Regions from separate parts of the Homo sapiens genome. Here regions 1 and 3 are each linked to region 2. Evidence: promoter capture Hi-C in human tissues and cell types (Jung and others, 2019). All regions are on one chromosome and are shown on one strand. The core of a region is centred on a gene start or on the middle of the fragment in contact, and the rest is flanking DNA. Distances in the headings are between cores, read along the strand shown.

What was found. The method cuts DNA at HindIII sites, captures the fragments that hold promoters and counts their contacts. A contact is called where the count stands out against the background at its distance.
Region 1: a contact is called between the fragment with the promoter of PRR19 here and a fragment that was not itself captured in region 2, in 1 of the 25 tissues and cell types used here (heart right ventricle).
Region 3: the fragment with the promoter of EXOSC5 here is called in contact with a fragment that was not itself captured in region 2 in 4 of the 25 tissues and cell types used here (adrenal gland, bladder, dorsolateral prefrontal cortex and 1 more).

The regions. Positions count from the first base shown.
Region 1 is chr19:42,300,882-42,304,747 of GRCh38, forward strand. It overlaps PRR19 (proline rich 19), which reads left to right and starts at 1,251. Exons shown (of 3, transcript NM_199285.3): 1 at 1,251-1,622. PAFAH1B3 (platelet activating factor acetylhydrolase 1b catalytic subunit 3) reads right to left here and starts at 1,743. Exons shown (of 5, transcript NM_002573.4): 1 at 1,351-1,743; 2 at 1,069-1,158. The coding sequence starts at 1,428. RefSeq lists enhancers at 1,218-1,267, 1,348-1,477, 1,430-2,084 and a silencer at 1,638-1,857. The HindIII fragment of the contact is 37,239 bases long and covers 1-3,866 here.
Region 2 is chr19:41,852,169-41,856,326 of GRCh38, forward strand. It overlaps DMRTC2 (DMRT like family C2), which reads left to right. Exons shown (of 9, transcript NM_001040283.3): 9 at 1-165. Among named protein-coding and RNA genes, the nearest start is that of RPS19, 6.0 kb to the right of the region's middle. The HindIII fragment of the contact is 8,258 bases long and covers 1-4,158 here.
Region 3 is chr19:41,395,903-41,399,827 of GRCh38, forward strand. It overlaps EXOSC5 (exosome component 5), which reads right to left and starts at 1,457. Exons shown (of 6, transcript NM_020158.4): 1 at 1,279-1,457. The coding sequence starts at 1,426. BCKDHA (branched chain keto acid dehydrogenase E1 subunit alpha) reads left to right here and starts at 1,916. Exons shown (of 9, transcript NM_000709.4): 1 at 1,916-2,033. The coding sequence starts at 1,926. RefSeq lists a silencer at 1,380-1,668 and enhancers at 1,427-2,099, 1,665-1,944, 2,100-2,771. The HindIII fragment of the contact is 15,471 bases long and covers 1-3,925 here.

The sequences.
Region 1 (3,866 bases), core at 1-2,500, 450 kb after region 2:
TCGGCTCATTGCAATCTCTGCTTCCCAGGTTCTGGCGATTCTCCTGCCTCAGCCTGCCAAGTAGCTGGGACTATAGGCATGTGCCACCATGCCCAGCTAATTTTTGTATTTTTAGTAGAGACAGGATTTCGCCATGTTGGCCAGGGTGGTCTCGAACTCCTGGCCTCAGGTCATCCGCCTGCCTTGGCCTCCCAAAGTGCTGGGATTACAGGCGTAAGCCACCACACCCTGCCTAGAGTCTCTCACTTTAAACCAAGCCCCAGGCTCTGTTGCTCATGCTGAGGTGGGCGGACTGCTTGAGCCCAGGAGTTCAAGACCAACCTGCGCAACAGGGCAAAACCCCATCTCTACAAAAATTACAAAAATTAGCCAGGTGCATGGTGATGTGCACCTGTAGTCCCAGCTACTCGGAGACTAAGGTGGGAGGATCACTTGAGCCCAGGAGGCAGAGGTTGCAGTGAACAGAGATCATACCACTGCACGCCAGCCTGGGTGACAGAGCAAGACCCTGTCTCAAAAACCAACCAACCAACCAACCAACCAACAAAACAAACCAAGCCCCATAGAAGCAAGACTCACTTCATGAAAATCCAGTCTGCTTGAGCCATGCATTGAATCAATGGCATTACAGTTGAAACTTATTTTGATGAAACCCATTACAGTTGGACATGCTTTGTGGAAAGATATTATTATGATTGAGTCCTCTTTGTGGAGTGCCATTAGAGTTGCCCTTCGCTTCCTGTAAAGTGACTATAGCTTTGTGTAAACCCAACAGGGCTGCGCACTACTTAAAGCAAACAAGAAAGAGCCTCACTTTAGGCAAGCCTATGGCAGGAAAGCCTCATTTTAGGTCTTAGTACATTATACACAAATCCAATCTGATAAAACCAAGGCATACATTTCTTTCTCAATAGAATGTTGCACCTTACACCAAGATTCTCAGAGCCTCGGGCTGCCTGAGGCCAATCTGGGTACTCTCATAATACCTCACCTGGCCTGGGTTCTGGTCCAGATGTGTCAGCATGGACACAGGGCTGGATGGGGCAGGGGGAGAGGGACTGCCCTCACCTCGCACTGGTGCATGAGCTGGACCAAGGAGTCCCCGATGAAGACGACTTCGGGTTCCTTATCTTTGCTGTCAGCCACGAACCGATGGTGCTGCGGGAGCGCGCGAGAGGGAGTCAATGGCATGCACGCTCCAGGGCCCGCCCCGCCCTGCTCCCTTAGGCAGCGCCTCCTCAACTGCCCTCAGTTTCCCAATCAGGTAGTGAGAGTGGCACGAACCAGCCGTTCTCCTGAGCCACCCCCCGCGCCCCCGGACTCCTCAATATCCCAGGTGGGAACGCTCACCAGGGACATCCAGCGCCCGTCGCCCTGTACGTCCTGCACCGGCGTGGGCTTGCTGGCTGGGTTCTCCTCTCCACTCATCTTGGCGCCGCAGCTCCTGCAGGATGAGCGAGTCGGGTCGGCCCGGGAGTGTTCCGAACGGAGCTGGCTCCGCCACGCCCACTCCTACCCCTCGCGGCAACAAAGGACCGTCCCAACGCTAGCACACCCGCGGAGGACGAAGGCCGATACAGGGCGCCGCCTCCTCTCCAGGGACGGAAGCCTTCACTTAGGAGGTAGGTGGAATCAGGAACCTTCGCTTCCCCCACGACGGCCGCACAGTGGGCTCGCCCGGCGCTTCCCGCTCGGGCCGCTGACTCCCAGGCCGCGCACCCGGCACGGGGTGGGGGGAGGGAGAGGCGAGACCATCCAGCTCCCGAGGCGGGGAGGAGGGAGAAACCACCCACCGGTCACGGGGAGGGGCGAACTACCTGAAGAGTCGAGAGTGGGCGGGGAAAATCTAGCCCTCTGTCTAGCAAATGGGAAGAAACCATTTGCTGTACAGAGTGAAATGTGCGGAAGGGACCACCTACTGTTGCGGGGGGGGGGGTGACCCATTCACGTGGTGGGGGGAGGGGAGCGAGTGGACGAGTCCATTCTTATATTCCCTTGAAGGGGTGGCTCGAATGCACCTGGCTGGGGGGGACGCTCCTATTTTCTACTGATGTGGGGGACAGAAAAGGAAGATGACAAAATGTGAAAATTCGAGGCTCCCTTCTAAGGAGCCACTCTAAGGCCGCGCCAGGGCTTTAGTGAGCCTATCTACTCGTGGGCTTCCCCTACTCAAAACACCGTGGGTGTGTGTGTGTGTGTGTGTGTGTGTGTGTGTGTGTGTGTGTTGAAATCTAAAGTACATATCTTTGCATTCAAGACATCACAGGACCCCTACTCAAAACACCGTGTGTGTGTGCGCGCGCGTGGCATAACATATAAACTACATATCTTTGCATTCAAGACACCATAGGACCTGCTTGGAGGGTAGAAGAAGGTGCAGAAAGAGAAAGGAAATTAGAGACGCCTCCAGGGCTCAGGTCCAGTCTGGCGTCCCTCCGGCAGATCATCTTGCAGATCTGCAGCCTCTACACTCTCTCTAAACCCACAGGCCAACTGGGTATGTCTGAGCTCTGAAACCTACATCCATAGCCAAGGCCACCTAGGGTCGCGCCTCTCCCCCAACGCTGCCCCAAATTAATCTCAGACCTCAGTGTCTTCTCAGATCTCCCTCTTCTCTGGGACCAGGTGGGGGGCTCACTCCCTGCTAAACGTCCTGGTCATGTTCTTGTAGCCTCACTCCAGGTGGGACCTTCCCATGTATTCATTCCTTCGAGGTGGATTGATACTGAGACAGAGATGAGTGTTATTCATTGTGTTTATGTTTTCAATCCACTTTCCTGGAACTGGGCCGGGCACACAGTGGTTATTCCACAAGTGCTTGCTGAATGAGTAGTAAATGAGTGGGTCAGCTCCTGACCTTGTCCCAATGTGTTTAGGGAGACAGATCCAGACACAGAGGTGTAGGGGTGTCAAAGTTGTGTTTGAGGGAGAGACAGGGACCTCTGGGGAGGAAGAGGAGAAGGACTCTGAGGACTATGGGTTTCCTAGGAGTAGTATCTCAGCTGGGTCTGAAAGATAATGAAGAATGGGCAAGCAGAAAGAAAAGACACAGGTAATCACTTTCTTATTAGGTTTGGGGAATATCGTGGAATAGCTTGATTTTAAAGTCTGAGGGAGGCCAGCATGGAGGCTCATGCCTGTAATCCCAGCACTTTGGGAGGCTGACATGGTCGGATCACTTGAGGTCAACCAGCCTGGCCAACATGGCGAAACCACGTGTCTACTAAATATACAAAAAAAAAAAAAAAATTAGCTAGGCATGGCAGCACACGCCCGTAGTCCCAGCTACTTGGGAAGGCTGAGGCAGGACAATTGCTTGAGTCTGGGAGGCAGAGGTTGCAGTGAGCTGAGATCGCGCCACTGCAGCCCAGCCTGGGCAACAGTGGCCCAGCTTGGGTGACACAGCGAGACTCTGTCTTAATTACAAAAATAAACAAACAAATAAAGTCTGAGGGAGCCAGGTGCAGTGATGCATGCCTGTAGTCCCAGCTACTGGGGAGGCTGAGGTGCGAGGATCGCTTGAACCCAGAAGTTTGAGACCAGCCTGGGTAACACAGTGAGACCCTGTCTAAAAAAAAAAAAAAAAAAAGGCTGGGCGCGGTGGCTCACGCCTGTAATCCCAGCACTTTGGGAGGCCGAGGTGGGCAGATCACGAGGTCAGGATCGAGACCATCCTGGCTAACACGGTGAAACCCCGTCTCTACTAAAAATACAAAAAATTAGCGGGGCGTGGTGGCAGGCGCCTGTTGTCCCAGCTACTTGGGAGGCTGAGGCAGGAGAATAGCGTGAACCTGGGAGGCAGAGCTTGCAGTGAGCCGAGATGGCACCAGTGCACTTCAGCCTGGGAGACAGAGCGAGACGCCGTC
Region 2 (4,158 bases), core at 550-3,049:
GGAGAGTGTTACCACAGCCTAACCTAGTCTATCCTGACTGACAGAAAGGACTTGTTCATTTCGCTTCTCAAAGTGAAAAATCTGTTATCCAATAGCTACCATAGATGAAAACAAACTTGGATTTTTTTCTTTGTCCAAATAAAAAAAAATGATGTAAAGAAATAATGGGGGATTCACTGATTAATTGCCCGCTCTGTGCCAGGCATAGACAGTTTCCAGCTGTCTAGAGGGGCTACAAATCGAAATGCCTACAGGGCTGAGCAGATCAAATAAATGAGTAAAGAAGGCCAGATGGACCCTGGCAAACTGAGAATGGATGCCTTGCCTAAGGAGCAGCCTCCTTTTGGCCCTAGCAGATTACTGCCAGGCGGGAATGTGGACTCAGTGTTGCTCCATCTTCTGATTTTTTAAGAGAAACTGGAAAACTAGATTTCCATGTAAAACATCTTAATTTTCAAATGTTGGCTCAGTTTTCTTCTTTAAATTCTATACGTGCCAAATAAAACATATTTTCAGGCTAGCTTTGGCCAGTGGAATACCAATTTGATACATTTTCCAGATGGGGAAATTGAGGCTAACCAGAATAGAAAGAATCGAGTTAGTCTTTATCACAAGTTTTTCCTCAACTAGGGAGGTTCACGTGTCTGAGTTTCGAAGGATCCATAAAAGGTTAAGAAACATTTATTACCATTTATTGAGTGCCCACTCCATTTGATTCACATATCTTCACAGCAACCCTGGAAGTTATGCAGGATGGTTCCCATTTTACAAGTGAAGAAACAAGCTTAAAGAGGTAAAGTAACTTGCCCAAGTGTTTTAGGGGAAATTTCTAGGCAGAGATCAGAGGAGGGTTCCTTCTCTTTGCCAGGCTCCAAATTAGTTAATAATGTTTATAAAGCATTGGGCCGGGTGTGATAGCTCACACCTGTAATCCCAGCACTTTGGGAGGCCAAGGCAGGAGGATCGCTTGAGCCCAGGAGTTTGAGACCAGCCTGAGTAACACGGGGAGACCCTGTCTCTATAAAAACAAATAAATAAAAGCATAGAATGAAAGATGCACCACTCCTTTCCCCAATCAGGACTCCAGAAGATACATACAAGTCAAGAGTTTTTCAAAAAAGTCTTTTATTTTTCTCCTCAAGATATCATTAAGAATAAGATCTTACCTGCATTTGTTTCTCAGTCCTCTGGTGTCAAGTCCTTCTCCTTGAACCATTCCGTACATAGGAAAACCTGTTGAGCTATTCCAAAGACATGAAGCCTGGAGACCCCCTTCCCATTCCCACCCTTAGAAGGGGCTCAAGGGATGTGCTTGATCACTGATTCTTTTTCCTGATGTTACCTACACCCCTTGTTTTACTCAAGATGATTGATGGTGATGACATCCAATTACAACTTGTTATTTCTTATTTGGGATTTTGAGAGGGTGGGTTTCTTCTCCTCCCTAGCAGAGTACAGAGTAACAAACCTGCAGCACTTCTCAGGAGATACTGAGATATCAGGAGACCAAAGTCGGCTTCACACCCTTCTTCCCTCCCCTTAGCTATAACTTAGATATATGATTGCTCCTTAATAGACCTGCCTAAGACTTGGTGTGCCATGCTTTCCTAGTGACAGATGACCAGGGCCACAAAGTCACAGAGAAAGGAAGCACTGCAACATGCAACATGGCTGAGATTCTGCTACTCAGCACTGACCAAGGGTCCTCTGTACACCAAGGTCACAGAGCTGAGAAGGGTAAAAGAGAAAGTATAATTTGGGGTTAAAGGATGGCATGAAAAGGGGAGGAAAAGAGGAAGTGATGGAGATTGGGGGAAGGAGTAGACTAGAGGCCACCTCTCCTTCACCTCTCCTCCAGTACCCGGCCTTCAGTACCCAGCCTGGGCAAGGCTTTTCACACCAGTTGGCCAGGCCAACTTTGTCTTTCAAATCGTTAGGGCCCCCCATTAGTGCCTGAGGGAAAGGGCCAGAGCTTCTGCAGATGTCAGTCTTAGGGAAAAGAGCAGATTTAAGAGTTGCTCATGCTCCTAAGTTGTTGCCTGTTCAGGTGCAGCACTCTTCACCTGTGGTTGTAGGGAGCCAGTAGGCTCCTGGCCTCTTCTTGGCTCTGAGAGATTACAGATAATAGACTGTGAGCACTGTTTCCTATACTGCCCCCTTTCCCACTTCCCAGTGCCAGGTAGGGAAAGGTATTGCCATGGTCCAATAAAGTACTGAGTAAATCATCTCCCTTCTAAACCTTCTTTGTGTACCCTCTTGGCACTCTGCAGACTTAACCAATGAGGTCCCAACTATGAAGCACCGTCCCTGTTCCTCTCTCTCCTCACAAGACTCCTCCCCACAGTCACCCAGGTTTTATTTCAGGAGCTTATTTCACATTCTGCCCTTTGGGAATCCATGCTCCTTTCGCTTCAGCCCTACATTAACTTGCTCCACTCCTGACCTCAATTCTCGTCCAACGTAGAACTGACATCATACACTTATCCCATCCAGCCTATACGCAGACCCTCATTGCTTCGTCCACATAGGCCTCATTCTGCACCCCTGTTCCATTGTGTAGCTGGCTTTGCAGCCCTGACACGTTTGCATAAATACAGTCCTATAACCCCTACCCTGCATGGGCCTTCACAAGATCCTGAACTCTTCACAAAACCAAAGTTCATCCTTTTCATCCAACTCAAAATAATATGTTAAGCCTCTCAGGCAGAGTTCCCTATGTTCCCAAGGGGCCACTGGTCTCTACTTCATAGTCCTGATCACCCTGAGCTGTGCCTATCTATGTCCATCTATGTCTCCCCCTCAGAGAATAAGCACTCTCAGAGCACAGGACTTGCCTGCAGCTCCTCCTTGGGAGCTCAGAATAAATGACTGAGTAAAATACGTTCTGTCTGATTCCTTAGGAATTGTTTTTTCCTACTGAGTTAACACACTCCAATGCTGCCCCTCTCCTCATCAAAATGTGAACTTTCTGACCTCAAACCATTTTTTCTAAGACAGCCTCTGTCACCCAAGCTGGAGTACAGTGGCACAGTCATGGCTCACGGCAGCCTCAACCTCCCAGGCTCAAGTGACCCTCCAGCCTCAGCCTCCTGAGTAGCTGGGACTACAGGCATACACCTCCATGTGAGACTAATTTTTATTTTTTGTAGAGACAGTGTCTCACTATGTTGCCCAGGCTGGTCTTGAATGTCTGAGCTCAACCGATCCTCCTGTCTCAGCCTCCCAAAGTGCTGGGATTAGAGTTGTTTTGTTTGTATGTGTGTATTTTTGTTTCTTATTATTTTGGGATTAGAGTTGTGAGCCACCGTACCCAGCAAAAAAACCTTCAGGGGCCAGATACAGTGGCTCACACCTCTGATCTCGGAACTTTGGGAGGCCAAGGTGGGAGGATTGCTTGAGCTCAGGAGTTCGGGACCAGCCTGGGCAACATGGCAAAACCCCCTTTCTGCAAAAAATACAAAATTTAGCCAGGCATGGTGGCGTGCACCTGTAGTCCCAGCTACTCAGGAGGCTGAGGTGGGAGAATAGCTTGAGCCCAGGAGGTCAAGGCTGCAGTGAGCCATGATTACACCACTGCACTCCAGCCTGGGTGACAGAGCAAGACTGTCTCATATATATGTGTGTGTGTATATACATGCAACACACATATATACACACATATACATATACATATGTATGTATATATATATATATTATATATGTTCATAGCAAAATTTAGTGGAAAGTACAGAATTCCCATAGTCCCCTTGCCAACACACAGGGATGGCCTCCCTTTTGTATCAACATTCCACACCAGAGTGGTACCTTTGCTACAATCAAGGAACACCGTATTATCACCCAAAGTCTGCAGTTTACATCAGTGTTCACTCTTGTTGTATGTTCTGCAAGTTTTGGCAAATGTGTAATGACACGTATCCACCATTACAGTTTCATAGAGAATAGTTTCATTGCCCTAAACAACACCCATTCATCCCTCCATCCCTCCAAGCCGACAACCAATTATCATTTTATCATTTTATTGTCATCACAATTTTGCCTTTTTCCAGAATGTCATATAGTTGGAATCATACATTTGGATTGGCTTCTTTCAGTTAGTAAGGCATTTAAGGTTCCACCATATCTTTCTTTTGGCGGGGTGGAGGGGAGGGGGAGGCAGAC
Region 3 (3,925 bases), core at 207-2,706, 460 kb before region 2:
GGGCAGAAACCTTAGTTATGCCTGAATCTTTTTCCTCGCACTCAAACCAAACTATACGTAAGTTTTGTCCGTATTACTTTCAAACTACATCCAGAATCTCATCACCTCCACTACTCCTGCTCTGGCTGGAGCCACCATCACCTCCCTGTTTTCCCCCATACTCCCCACAATCAACACAGCAGCCAAATTTTGTTAAAATGTATTGGGGCTGGGCGTGGTGGCTCATACCTGTATGAGCACTTTGGGAGGAGGATTGCTTGAGCCCAGGAGTTCAAGACCAACCTGGGTGACATCGTGAGACGCTGTCTCAATTTTTTTTTTTTTTGAGACAGAGTCTTGCTTTGTCGCTCACGCTGGAGTACAATGGCACGATCTCGGCCCACTGCAACTTCTGCCTCCCAGGTTCAAGTGATTGTCCTGCCTCAGCCTCCCGAGTAGCTGGGATTACAGGCGCCCGCCACCATGCCTGGCTAGTTTTTGTATTTTTAGTAGAGACAGGGTTTCGCCATGTTGGCCAGGCTGGTCTCGAACTCCTGACCTCAGGTGAGCCACAGGTCTTGGCCTCCCAAAGTGTGGGGATTACAGGCGTGAGCCACCGCCCCCGGCCTCCCGTCTCAAACGTTAAAGAGAAATATTCTTGGAGTTAATCTACTTCTGAGAGTTATTTAGCTAGGAAAAGGGGATATTTGCTCTATAGGTAAGACTTGCCCTAATCTTTTTTTTTTTTTTTTTTTTGACTTGCCCTAATCTTAGGGATATTTACTTGTGTGGAGAGATGCAGTGAGGTAGCGGTGGGGATGTATTTCTCAACCCAGCGCAATGACATTATCTTCAATTTGAGGAGTATTTACGTGGGTGAAAGATCCGCCACAGTCCACAGTATGCAAATAGACAGGTTTGCTTCAGTCCGGGATGCAAGGACCTAGAGGGTGTGTGTGTGGGGGGTGGGGGTGGGAGGGTGGAGGAGGAATCGAGTTAAGGGGGATATTTACCCTGGCGAGGTGATTTTCCCTATTCTGAAATATCAATTCTTGGGCGGACAGTCTGCCCCTCCTCTCATTCTCAGAGATAGTTACAAAGATGGAACTATCTTCTCCTTTCTAGTCGTGAGGGAGAGATGTGTGTATCCCTGCGTATTTAGTAGTATTCAATCGGACAAGAAATCATGCATCAACGCAGGAGTGACATTTACCAGCTGGTATCGTGAGGAGGTGGGCACTCGGTTGCACAGTACACGGTAGTCCCTCTCCAAAAGAAAGACCTGGGTGAAGTTCTTACCTTGCAGGAAGGAAGCAGAGCCATCTGGCCGCGACAGCAGGTTCTGTTCGCAGGCAAAGTGCCGGAGGCTGCAGCCAGGACCCCGAGGGCTGGACCCTGTTCCATTTTCAGCACGGATTTTGGCGTCAGTATGCGTCTCCTCCTCCATCGCGCCGAGCCCACGTGCGGCTGCAGTTGTCACTTCCGCCTGGCAGCGCGCGCCGCAAACAGGCTGCGTAACCAGTGCGCACGCGCCGGGCTGGGCCATCCTCCTGGGCGTCCGCACGTGGCTTAGCGTTTACCAACAATCTGGCTCCGCCCAGTCCCACCTCCTAACTCTGGCAACGCCATTGGACATTTGGGAACAGAAGGCAGGCCTTGGCATTGATCCGCTTTACTCTGGGCCCCCGGGCCCTAAATCCCTGAGGCCCTGGTCAGGTTGCCCTCTTCTTTGCCTGTTACAGGAGTAACTACAATGAGGCGATTGGAGAAAATTTTGGGTAGATAGATTTTTTTTTCTCCAAATCTCTGTGCATTCTATCTACCACAGAACGGGAAGAAGATGGTTTTCTTGTCAGATGGTGCTGGAGTTTGCGTCAGGCACATAAAGAGGCAGCCCCGAATCTAGCCTACGTGAGTGCCGGACCGCTGAGTGGTTGTTAGCCAAGATGGCGGTAGCGATCGCTGCAGCGAGGGTCTGGCGGCTAAACCGTGGTTTGAGCCAGGCTGCCCTCCTGCTGCTGCGGCAGCCTGGGGCTCGGGGACTGGCTAGATCTGTGAGTACCTGGGCCCCAGGCGGTTTTCCCAAAGGGGATTAGGGATGTAAAGGCTATCTTCAGAGTGTGGGGTCCCTGAAGGATATGAAGGAAGGGCTGTCACAAAAGGGAAAAAGAGTGGGAGACTCCTTGGAGAAGACACCGAAGGGAAGATCTGCCACTTCCTTAGGAGACGAAAAGAACTTCCACTTCTTTAGGAGAGGAAAAAACCCGTTTGCAACTTCTTTGTGGGCCCTGAGGGAGACGACTTGAAGAGAGAGATGGGGGTTCCTTATTAGCTGCCACTGGTATTCAGGGGAGGCTCCTTGGAGGAACAGGGGAAGACCGCAAGACCTTCTCCCTCAGGGTTTGGAGAATGAAACTGACTTTGTAAGGGAGGGACTTTCTTCTGGGCAAAGATCCCTCTTCAAGAAGAAGAAAGAAGAGAACAGGTCCCTGTCACAGGCTGCATAGGGCCTTGTATTTCTTTGCTCCTTTGCCACAATTCTGATTTTAAAATGAATTGTGTAAAAAATTTGTTTGATTCCTGTGTCTCTTGATCGAATATCAAGACAGAGAATTCGTGTGTTCTGGACACTGTACAGAGGAGACGATTAATATTTGTTGAATTAATGAGGGGAAAAAAGGAGGGAGAGAGGTACAGACAGGGCACTTTGCCCACATTTCTTAGAAACACTTGAGAAGGCTTTGTTTCTTGTCAAAAGGGTCACAATCCCTTCAGGTGGATGCTGCTAAGGGCAAGATTACACTGCAAAAAACCTAGGTGGAAGCCTATCTTTAGACGGGGAGAGGCAATGGGTTGCAGAAGAGCTTTGAACTACAGTTGACAGATAGGAGAGTAGTGGTTACATGGGTGGATGCATGTCCTTGCTCTGCCGCTTTCCACTTGTGTAGCCTTGGCCAACGGACTGCACTTCTCTGGATCTATGGAGCTAATTTTCCTCTCTAAAATATTAACAGTGGCCACCTCATAGGGCTGTGAAAAATCAATATGTAAAATGCTAAGGACTGGACCTGGCACATCCTAAGGGCAATAGGAATGTTGATAGTGAGGGTGGAGGGAAGGGACAGAAACTAACCTTGGAGATGGGGAGAAGAAAGGGGTGACCTTGGGAAGGCCTGGATTGGTGAGGCCCTGGGGAAAAAAATCTGAAAAGATATTGTGAGGTTGAGTCTGATCCTCTGATCCCCAATCCATAAGGAGGGGAAGATGGAATCTGTAGAAAGAAGCTCTGGGTAGGGGAACAAACGGGAGGAGGGTGAAGAAGATGGGCCAGGAGTAGGACGTAGTAGGTATCTAGGAACGGAGTCACTTGAAACAGGTAAATACAGAAGGGCTGCAGGAGCAAGGTGTGGGTAGGGCAGTCTCTTGCCTTTGGGCTGGAGACCTTTTCACTTTTTTTTTTTTTTTTTTTTTTGAGCAGTTCATATCCTCCACAGCTGATCTCAGTCCCAGGGGCCCATTGGCTGGGCAAGTGGGGCAGGAGGTGGGCAGGACTGGGGCAGGCTAGGGAAAGGTCATTTATGGCTGATTAAATCTTTCTCTCCTGTCTCAATCTCTTGATTACCTTTCCTCTTGCTTCCCCTACTTCATTTTTGGTGGGGAGTGGGGAGGGAAGAAGTCCCTACTTTTTATTTATATATATTTAAATTTGTATTATCTTAAGAGTTATTGTTTTTTCCCCTTTATTTCTCCCACCTGTTCTTTCTCTCTTCTTCTTTCTTTCCTCTCCTTCTCCTCTCCTCTCCTCCCCTCTCCTTTTTCTTTTCTTTTCTTTTTCCCTTTCCTTTCCTTTCCTTTTCTCTTCTCTTTTCTCTCTCTCTTTCTTTCTGTACCTCTCTTTCCTTTTTCTTTTTTTTTCTTTTTTGAGACAGAGTTTCACTCTCTCGCC